2 separate regions of the Homo sapiens genome follow, and region 1 is linked to region 2. The links are contacts of gene promoters, found by promoter capture Hi-C in blood cells and fetal thymus (Javierre and others, 2016). All regions are on one chromosome and are shown on one strand. Each heading gives the region's core, a stretch centred on a gene start or on the middle of the fragment in contact. The rest is flanking DNA. Distances are from core to core; before and after follow the strand shown. Region 1 has its middle 91 kb from the start of YTHDC2. Region 2 holds the start of TICAM2 (TIR domain containing adaptor molecule 2).

Region 1 (5,492 bases), core at 1,432-3,931, 2.0 Mb before region 2:
TTTTAAATCTTAACTTTTAAAATGAATAGAGTAAAATGAACTTTTTTAAAGATGGACAGTTCTTTGAATTTTAACACATGTACAAATTTAGGTAACCTTCACCACAATCAGGATGCAATTTCATCATCCTAAAAAATTCCCTTGTGCTACCCCTTTGTAGTTACATCATCCCCCCGACCCCTAACCCCTGCCAACCACTGATCTGTTCTCTGACATTCTTGGTTTGTCTTCTTGAGAATGTCCTATAGATAGAATCATACAGTATGTAACCTTTTGAGACTGGCTTTTTCACTTAGCATAATGTCTTTGAGATTCATCCAAATTATTGTTTATATCTACAATTCATTTTATTTTCTTTTATTGCTGAATAGTATTCACTATTTTTGAGAATAGCTATATCATTTTGCATTCCTCCCAGTAATGTCAGAGAGGTCCAGTTGTTTCACATTGTTGATAGCTGTTACTATTGTCGGTATTCTTTATTTTCACCATTCTATTAGGTGTGCAATAGTATCTGATCATGGGGTTAAGTGGTATTTCTCTAATAGCCACTAATGTTGAACATCTTTGCATGTGCTTATTTGTCAACCATATATCCTCTTTGGGTAAGTCACCTATATTTCCTCTCCAAGTCTTTAGACCATTTCAAAATTGTTTTCTTACTGTTAGTTTTGAGAGTTCATTATAGATTCTGAATACAGGTCCTTTGTCAGATATGTGACTTGAAAATACTTTATTTGTAGCTTGTCTTTTCATTCCCTTAACATTTTTTATAATTTTTAATTTTGATAAGCTATATCTTTTTTTATGGATAGTGATGTTGGTGTCATACTGAGAACTCTTTGCCTAACCCCCAGTTATGAAGGTTTTCTTCCATTGTTTTTTCTAAAAGTTTTATAGTTTTATATTTAGATTCATGATCCATTTTGAGTTAATTTTTGGATAAAGTATGAGATAGGTTGAGGTTCATTTTTATGTACATGAATGTCCAATTGTTCCATCACTATTATTTAAAAGACTACCCTTTCTCTCTTGAATTGCCTTTGCACCTTTGTCAAAAAATCATTTGGCTGTATTTATTTGGTTCTTGAGTTCTTGAGTTGAGGAGACAAAGTTAAGAGTGGGAAAACCAAAGCACCTAGAGCTCTTAGAACAGACAGAAGACCAGAGATGAGAGAATTTCATAGAGAGTAAACCGCAACTCTCTGCAGAGGGTCCCTCTGGAGTGTTCAGCAAGCTGCTGATCAGTGCATGCGTGCAAAAACTACCTGAAGTCAGGAAAAGAACCATCTGAAAGGATTAAAGAAAACAGTGCCTGGTGCTTATAAATGGCCAAAAATAGTGCCTGTTCCCACCAGACTTGCAAAACTTCAAAAAAGGGAAAATGGTACAAAAAACAAATGGAAATAACAAATAGAGACAAAGACAACAACAAAAATAGAAAACAGACAATAGACTCAAACTGAAAAAATTAGTAATCTTATGATATGGCTTGGCTGGGTCCCCACCTAAATCTCATCTTGAATTGTAGCTTCCATAATCCTCGTGTGTCATGGCAGGGACCTGGTGGGAGGTAACTGAATCACGGGGGTGGGTTTTCCATGCTGTTCTCATGATAGTGAATCAGCTGCACGAGATCTGATGGTTTTATAAAGGGCAGTTTCCTGCACAGGCACTCTTGCCTGCTGCCATGTTAAGACTTGCCTTTGCCTTCACCTTCTACCATGATTGTGAGGCCTCCCCAGCCATGTGGAACTGTGAGTCCATTAAACCTCTTTTTCTTTATAAATTACCCAGTCTTGGGTATGTCTTTATTAGCAGCGTAAGAACAGACTAATACATCATATTAAGTGGAATGGTCCAAAAACTCCAAATAAAAGGGAGAGCTTGTCAGATTGGATAAAAAACCAAGACCCAGCTACATGATGCCTACAAGAAATGAATCATAAATGTAAAGACACACAGGTTAAATGTTAAAAAAATGAAAGAAGTTATGCCATGCTAATATTAACTTTTAAAAAGCTAGAATGGTTATATTAATGTCAGACAAAGGATAATTCAGAACAAAGAATATAATTGGGATAAAGACAGTAACTTAATAAAAGATCAATGGATATAATAATCCTAAAAGCTTATGCTCTTAATAATAAAAGAGCTTCAAAATGACTTAAGTGAAAATTGATAGAACTGCAAGGAAAAATAGGTAAGTTGACAATTATAGTCAGAGATTTCAATGTCTCTCAATAATTGTTAGAAAAAGTAAGCATAAAGTCAGCAAAAAATAGTAGGCTTGAAAAACACTATCCATCAACTTGACTTAATTAACATTAATAGAACTTACCACATAACAGGATTAGAATACACAGTCTTTTCAAGTGCACATATAATACTTATGATAGACCTGTTGTGGGCCACAAAGCAAATCCCAATAAATTTAAAAGCATTCAAATCATACAAAGTGTGTTCTCTGACCACAATGGACTTAAATTTGAAATCAGTAACATTCTACTTTGAACTAGCTAGAAAAAGCAATGTTTTCCCATTGACTTCCTCATAACTTCCAGCATTTACTTTCATTGGATGAACTGGTCACGTACACCATTGTCTCTACACCAATCACTGTGCTAATTAGTCTCTGTTAAATGTCTTCCCAAACACATGGACCAAGAGTAGAAAAGAAATGGTTCTCCAAAGGAATAGCAAAGTTATATTATCACAACAAAGATTCTGGGGCAGGGAAAATTATTAGTTTCCCACTACCAAAAGCTACTTGAACTAATTAATGAGTTTAACAAGGTTCCAGGATACAAAATCAATATACAAGAACCCAGCTGTATTTCTGTATATTGGCAACAAACAACTGTAAGTTAAAATAAGAAAAAATGCCATTTACAAAGCATCAAAAAAGATAAATATTTAGGAATAACTGACAAAAGATACGAAAAACCTATACACTGAAATGTACAAAATGTTGCTGAGAGAAATTAAAGATGACCTAAAAAACAAAGATTTACTTTTTCATGGGTTGGAAGACTCAATATTGCTAAGAAGTCAGTTCTCTGCAAAATCTATAGATTCATCAGAATCACAAAAGTGGGCTTTTTTGTAGACATGGGCAAGCTGATTTCAAAATTTATATGGAAATGTAAAGGACCTTAGCATAGCCAAAACAATGGAAAAAGTACAACTTTAGAGGGCCCATACTTAATTTTTATCTAATTCAAGACTTAACAAAGCTTTATGCTATAGTTTGGATATAGTTTGTTTGACCCCTTCCAAATCTGATGTTGAAATTTGGTTTCCAGTGTTGGAGATGGGTCCTAATGGGAGGTGTTTGGGTCATGAAGGTAGATCCTATGTGAATAGATTAATCCCCCTCTCTCTTGCTTTCTTGCTTGCCATGTGATCTCTGTACAGCTGGCTCCCCTTTGCCTTCTGCCATGAGTGGAAGCAGCCTGAAGCTCTCACCAGAAGCAAATACTGACACCATGCTTCTTGTATAGCCTGCAGAATCATGAGCCAAATAAACCTTTTTATAAAAAATAAATTACCATCTCCGATATTCCTTTATAGCAACACAAACAGACTAAGACACTTTAGTATACAAAACAACCTGGTTTTTACATAAATGTGGACACATAGAGCAGTAGAAAGTAATGGAAAGTCCAGAAATACACTCAACATCTATGGGCAACTGATTTTTTTTCACAAGGACACAAAGATAATGTGGTAGAAAAAGTACAGTCGTTTCGATACAGGAGTTGGAAATTATTTAGGCAGATAGGGTAAGAAAGTCCTCAGTAAGCTTTCCTTTTTGTAAAAGCAGCCCCCAAATCATTTCTTTTCTAACAAAAAGCAGCCTGAAAAATCAAGCTGCAAGCATAACTAAGCAAGCTAAAATCTTGCATAGGTAAATACCAGCAGCTGTGCCAGTAGAGAAAGGCTACCTGGGGGCCAGTCATGTTCAACATGGTGGCTCCATCTTCCCTTTGTGAACCACGTGTACAGTAAGGAACAGACAACATGGCGCTGGCCAGGTAGAGAGCCCATCTGCACAATAAAAGATTAGGGTGGGATGGGCAGCTTCCTTGAACCCCATGCAAACATAACAACTGGTTCTACCAATCTCTTGGGCCCTATGTAAATCAGACACCACCTCCTCCTATATAAATCAGACACCACCTCCTCAAGCTCATCTACAAAACCCCGTTTATTTCATCACAAAACTGGAAGACCCACTCGGGTGCCCCTCTCTCTGTGCAGAATAGAGAGCTATTCTCTTTTTCTTTTACGTATTAAACCTCTGCTCTTAAACTCTCTACTTGTGTGTCCATGTCCTTGAATCCCTTGGCGTGAAACAACGAACCTCGGGTATTTATCCCAGACAATGTCGCCGCTTCATTTTGGGGCCCCATCTGGGACATCCTTTCATTTCAAGGCTGTCGGCCTCCATTCTGGGCATTTTGGCTGTGTTTTGAACTGATTTCCCTTCATGGAAACCTAGCCATTGCATGGGGCTGGAATAAGTCCTGGAGGATTTCTGGCCAGGTCTACACCCTGGTGTTATCTGAAGGCTTCTGGACTGACCCGCCTCCAACTGCTCAATCAGGCATCGGCAACAGGATCTCCAGCTTTACTTATCATAATTTCCTCCTTTCCTGTCTGCGACTGCCATGTCTCCTCTCTCTGTATGCAATGTGGTGGGAATTTTTACAGTTCAGGGAAGTAATCCTATTAGGCAAGATCAGGAAATGTAGGATGCTGCAGTAACCAGGAATATAGCTCAAGGGAATGTCGTTTTTGTGATTTTTCTAGGAACTGAGGGTCTCCACCACTCCCCCGCCCCACCACTGTGAGCATTTCTCCGCCCTTGGGCTGGAGGGCACATGGCATTTCAAGGTCAACAGCACCACCTAGTGGAATAGAAATCTCCTCCCTTTTGGCACCTCTCTACTAGAGACCAGGCTTTATGCGCTTCTGTAAATGGAAAAACTCTCCCTTCAGCAATGAGGAGGAAAAAATCCTCTAAAATCAAATTTTAGTCTCGATACCGTCCCATCAGCAGGAAAATGGCCATTCGGTCCCTACGTTCTTTTAAGGCACATATTCTACCTCCCATTAAAACGATACTTAAATAGTAAGAAGATTTTATGTCTGGAAGTTCACCGGAACCATTCTCTAAGGGTAAGTGCTTTAGCATGGGCCATAATAGCAGGATATAGAGTTTAATCTAGTACACTCCCTCCATTAAATGGGTCTTGCTCACATGAAACTATTATGTAGTTTTTCCTGAGATCCATCTTTCTGGGAGCCACACGGGCCAGATGAGTCCAGGAAATCAAAGGGATATCACAAGTGGAGGACTAAAGTCACAAGAGTGAACATAATCCCAAATCGCTTAGTTCCTTTGGTTCCATGCTGAGGGTCATGCCTGCAACCATGGGTGGCACATTTAATAAATGCCAGGGCTCAGGGAACTAGGGAGGGAAAAC
Region 2 (5,209 bases), core at 64-2,563:
AGGATTGATGGGCTGATAGGTGCAGCAAACCACCATGGCACACGTTTATCTATGTAACAAACCTGCAAGTCCTGCACATGTATCCCAGAACATAAAATTAAATTAAACAATAAAAAAATAGAAATACAGATTCTGGAAATCAAGCTTACCAAATTAAACCTTCAGAGGTGGGGGGATGCATTTTAAACAAAAGTCCCAAATGCGTCTTACCATCAGGCTTGTTTGAAAAACACTAATCTAAGGAATACTAAACACTTGGAGAAGGACAAGTTCTTCTCCTGTGTAGACGTGCAATGTGGGTTCAGGGGATGACACTTCAACTCTATATAATGGTGTATTTTTACCTCCAGATCATATAGCCTTTCCCACCCTTGCTTTTCAAAATTAAAAGGATAAATTAAAAAATAATAATAAATATGAGAATATTTTAAAATACTTTCTTTAAGAAGTTTACTACCGTGGAAAGCTGGAGAGGTCCTAATACACTGAAAACTAGCTCACAGCTGCCAGTCAAATTATTTTTATCCAAATTAGCTTTGCACAAAAAGCCAAGTAGGAAAACCCATGCCAAAACCTCCAGCACTGGCTCTGTGTGCCTGGCAGGGGCTCATGCAGAGCCTTTAGAGCATTTAAGACTCTGGGCTATTTGCTTATGGTTCTGAGGTGTCTTTTCGAAAATGGGTTTTCTAGTCAAAATGAAACAAAAAGGCAGACAGCTGTGTGGATTTTCCCTTCAGAGTAAGCCAAGTGACGGAAAGGCCTGCCCGCCCCGCTGGGGACAACAGCGCCAGCACCCGCGCCGTCGGGTCGGGTAGGCTGGGGAGGTAGCGCAGGCGGCCTGGCCCCCAGACCACCCCGCGCCCCTGGCGGCCTGGCCCCAGCCCACCCCGCGCCCCCGGCGGCGGCCCCCGCCCTAGCGCCCGGTACTTGCCTGCAGGCGAGCGCCACCACAGTCAGCCCGCGGCTTTTCTGTCTTCCTTTCTGGCCCAGCGAGAGCGCCCAGGGGGTGGGCGTCTTGCCCCGGGCGTCGAGAGTTTGGGGCCGTCCCGTACGCGGCGCGCCGCAACCCAGTCCCCGCGACCACAGCAGCCTGCTCCCCACCGCGCTTGCAGAGCCCGGACGCGCGTGAGTCGGGGGCCCGCAGAGGCCTCACCCTTGGAGGTCGCCGCTTGTCAGGCCTGACTGCTGTTGGCGCCCACCCCGCCGCCCCCGAGGGGCCGCTCGAGGCCGGACTGCTGCTTTGCCGTGGCAGGCCCCACCCGGGACGTGGCGCTGCGGGCCGGGGCGGTCCAGCTGTGAGTCAGGGGTTAATGTGGCGGGATAACTCTCTGCAGAGGGAAGGAGCTCGCAAAGAAGGGTGGAGGAGGGGAAACCGCAATGGGGAACTGTCACCGAGGCTAGTGGACTCTCCCTGCGCTTTTTTTTTTTTTTTTTTTTTTGGCATGTACCCCAAAAGCCAGAGGTCGAGGCCCAGAAAAATCTGGAAAGGAATTCCACCGTGTTTGCTCCTTACAGACCAGACAAACCGTAGATCTTTCAGAGGTACAGCGACTCTCCTGGTTCCCTAAGATAGTCTCGACTTTTCCTTTCCCTTTGCGGCCCTCTCACTTGACTACTGCAGCCAACCATACCCCTGATTAGGGGGTGCAGCACATCAGCCTCTGCCCCCAAAAACTACCCTGCGAAAGATCCTTTTTCTCAGGTTCGTTCTCCACAACCGAACAGATTGGAACTCCACTGAATAAGAGAGAACAAAAAAGCAATTAGTTAAATGAAGCGTAAAGAAGCCTTATAAAGCCCCATTGCTGCCTCAGGCACCCAATCTAGTCATAACCTAAGAGGTCCAGTTCAGAAATCTCCCCTCCCCTTTTAATTCTCAGGCAATCCCTACTCCCTGCCAAAGGAGAACCCAGTTACTGAACATCGGATGAGACCATGGATAGTAAATTGGGAGTGAAGGTCCATACCTGGGTCTCAGAAGCACAGTACAGGTAAAGCTAAGAGTTATTTCCTCCTTCTCTTTCCCCATCCAACAACAGGATGCCTTACTGAAGGTAGGCACTTCAGGTAGTAATTACTTAGTGAAATGCCGCCAATGTAGTCAGAAATACCGTATTATGTACCGTGTCAACACAATTCATTATTCACGGAGTTGATTCTCCAACCACTGCACCTCCCAACAATTCTACCTGAACTCTTTGGGTAAGCAGTGGCCTCCTAAATCCAACTGATACTTTTGTTGCCCTCATTTTTCCTGGGAGTCTCTTTGGCGATTGACAAAGTCGACCATTGTTTCCCAACACTCTGTTTCCTTGATGTTGACAACCCCACTTTGCCTTTATGCTCATCCTGCTTGTTAAAATTCTTTCAGGCCTGTTGGGAGGCCGAGGCGGGTGAATCACGAGGTCAGGAGATCGAGACCATCCTGGCTAACACGGTGAAACCCCGTCTCTACTAAAAAATACAAAAAATTAGCCGGGAGTGGTGGCAGCTGCCTGTAGTCCCAGCTACTTGGGAGGGTGAGGCAGGAGAATGGCTTGAACCCGGGAGGCGGAGCTTGCAGTGAGCCGAGATCGCGCCACTGCACTCCAGCCTGGGCCACAGAGTGAGACTCCGTCTCAAAAAAAAAAAAAAAAAAAAAAAATTCTTCTTTCAGTTTCCTCTGCCTGTTCCTCTTTCTCTGGCAACCCTTCAAAATCAGAGCTTTTCACATTTTCCCACTGAAATACCACCAATGACAGATTCCATAAACACGTACTTCCCTATTCATCACTTAGGTTGCATACATAAAAGAGCCTGAAGTCACTAGTGTCATGGGCAAATTTACTTGAACTGTTCCATCTTCTTGTAAATTGCTCCAAATTTTGCATTGTTCTTCATAATACAGTCACATGTACTAAAAAAAATCTTAAATTGGTTACAAGTTTAATTGCTTAACATTTTCTCTCCAAATGTTCAAGAAAATGCATCAATCACTTACGCCACATATGTTTAGAATATATTCTATGTGCTAGACATTAGGGATATTGTGCGAACAGGAGACACAGTCCTAGTTCTCATGGAGATTTTATAGTCTAATCTGGGAGACAGACAGATATGTAAAGAAGTGAGACAATTTCAGATCCGTGCATTGCTAATGGGGACAGCGAATCTTCCTAGTGGGCAATTTCTAGCTACATACCTGGTTATTCACATTCAAGAAAGGAGGGGACGACATGACAAACTGATAAATATACTGACTTACAGGCAGTGTCTAATGGATTGTCCAGCTTTTAGGTTCTTGGAAAGAACAAAATGGAAAATTTGTAAAAGATCTGTCCGTGAGACTTACAGATAACCCTCTTGGAGTGGTGAGGGCATGTGAAGATATTCATATCCCCCATAAGTGCCTAACAGGATGCATCAGGTGGAGAAGATTTTCAATAATAAGCGGAACAAGATGAATTGTCTGGTAGATGTCAGTCTTTTTCTCCAGCCAACCCAGGGCTTGGTTAATGGGCCCATGTACCAAGTGGCTATCAAAGCAGTGACAGAGGTTCAATAGTATGGTCTTCTCCTTACCTACATTATTTGGCTACTATCATTGCCGAATGCCCAACCTGGCAACAACGTGGAGTGTGACTACATTTCCAAGGCTGGGTTCCTAATATGGCATTACTGTCAATGAGACTTGCTGGCAACCCGGTAACATGATGGTTACATTGGGCAATTTCCATAAGAAATAGGTAGCACTTTGTCTTCACAAAGATAATTCACATTCAAGGTATAAATCTGCATTCTCTGCCTGCAGTGTTTCCACTGGCACTAATATTCTTGACATTTCTGAAGGTTTTATCCATTGCATAGGAATCCCAAAAACATTTCTTCCAACCAGGTACACAGTTTATGGCAATGGAAGTGAATTCAATGGTTTTAACACATGCTTATCTCCTAAAGTAACTAGCTTGATAGAACAGCTGAGTGGCAAAATGAGAGCTCGGTTACAGAGATATCTGGGAGGCAACATCATGAAAAGGTAGGGTGGTGTCCTATAGAATGTGGTACATTAATTTAATAAGCAGTCAATATATGGAGCTGTCTCCCCACTATCAGGATGCACAGGTCTCAGAGCCAAAGGGTAGAAGGAGTGTTTCTGTTCAATAGTATACCTAAGAATCTACGTGAATAATTTTTGCTTCCCATTCCCAAAATGTTGGGCTTGGTGGGTTTAGAAATTCTAGAGTCCAAGAGTAGAACACTTCCTTCAGGAAAAATAATCATGTTTTGATGATTTAGGAGCCGAGACTGGCCCTGGCCTTTTGAGGTTCCTCATGCCATTAAAGTAACAGAAAAGCAGCTCAATGGACTGGCCAGGGTAGCTAATTCCAGTTATCAGAGGAAAACTGTGTTTCTGTTTTACAATGGAAACAAGAAGGCTATATAGGCTATATATGGAAACGAGGAAATTCACTGGAATGCCTCTTAGTGCTAACAGTCCTAGTCAGTGGAAAACTGCAGCAACCCAGTAAAGACAGGCCTATCAACGGCTCAATTCTGTAGAAATGAAGGTTTAGGTCACTTCATTAGACAAAGAATCCCATCTAGTCAAAATCCTGGAGGAAGGTAAGAAGAAGGATTACTAAGCTTGATTATGGTACTTTATTCCCCCAGAAATAAAACCAAAAGATGGTTTACTAGGACGTTCAAAATCAATAAACTTCTAGCCAGATAAGTCAAGAAAAAAGAGAGCAGATGCAAATTACCAATATTAGAAATGAGAGAGGGACATGACATTCCAGTTATTAAAAGGTTACTAAGGAAAGATTATGAACAACTTTATGCCAGCAAATTCAACAATTTATATGAAATGGAAAAAATCCTTAAAAGCCAAACAGTCAAGATGAAACAGATTATTTTAAAAGCCCTAAATCTATCAAAGAAATTAAGGTGTAGTGAAAAATGTTCCGAAAAAGAAAACTTCATGTCCAGGTGACTTCAATGGTGAACTCTACCAAAACATTTAAGGAAGAAATGATACCAATCCTACACATACTCTTCAAAAAAATTCAAAAGGAGGGAATACTTCTGAAATCATTCTATTAAGCCAGCATTAGTATCATACTAATCAGACAAAAGACATTACAAAAACAGAAAACTAAAGACCAACATCGCTCATGGATATAGATGTAAGATTCTAAACAAAATTTGAACAAATCAATGATGGTTGAGA

Evidence for each region. The method cuts DNA at HindIII sites, captures the fragments that hold promoters and counts their contacts. A CHiCAGO score of 5 or more calls a contact.
Region 1: a fragment that was not itself captured here is called in contact with the fragment with the promoter of TICAM2 in region 2 in 6 of 17 cell types (total CD4 T cells, non-activated CD4 T cells, activated CD4 T cells and 3 more); the score reaches 13.7 in total CD4 T cells.

What each region holds. Positions count from the first base shown.
Region 1 is chr5:113,601,818-113,607,309 of GRCh38, forward strand. No RefSeq gene overlaps it. Among named protein-coding and RNA genes, the nearest start is that of YTHDC2, 91 kb to the left of the region's middle. The HindIII fragment of the contact is 1,105 bases long and covers 2,130-3,234 here.
Region 2 is chr5:115,601,166-115,606,374 of GRCh38, forward strand. TICAM2 (TIR domain containing adaptor molecule 2) reads right to left here and starts at 1,314. Exons shown (of 2, transcript NM_021649.7): 1 at 932-1,314. All of the region lies in intron 3 of TMED7-TICAM2 (TMED7-TICAM2 readthrough), which reads right to left. TICAM2-AS1 (TICAM2 antisense RNA 1) reads left to right here and starts at 990. Exons shown (of 3, transcript NR_109875.1): 1 at 990-1,295; 2 at 1,881-1,991. RefSeq lists enhancers at 636-715, 664-1,186 and a silencer at 806-1,305. The HindIII fragment of the contact is 4,479 bases long and covers 143-4,621 here.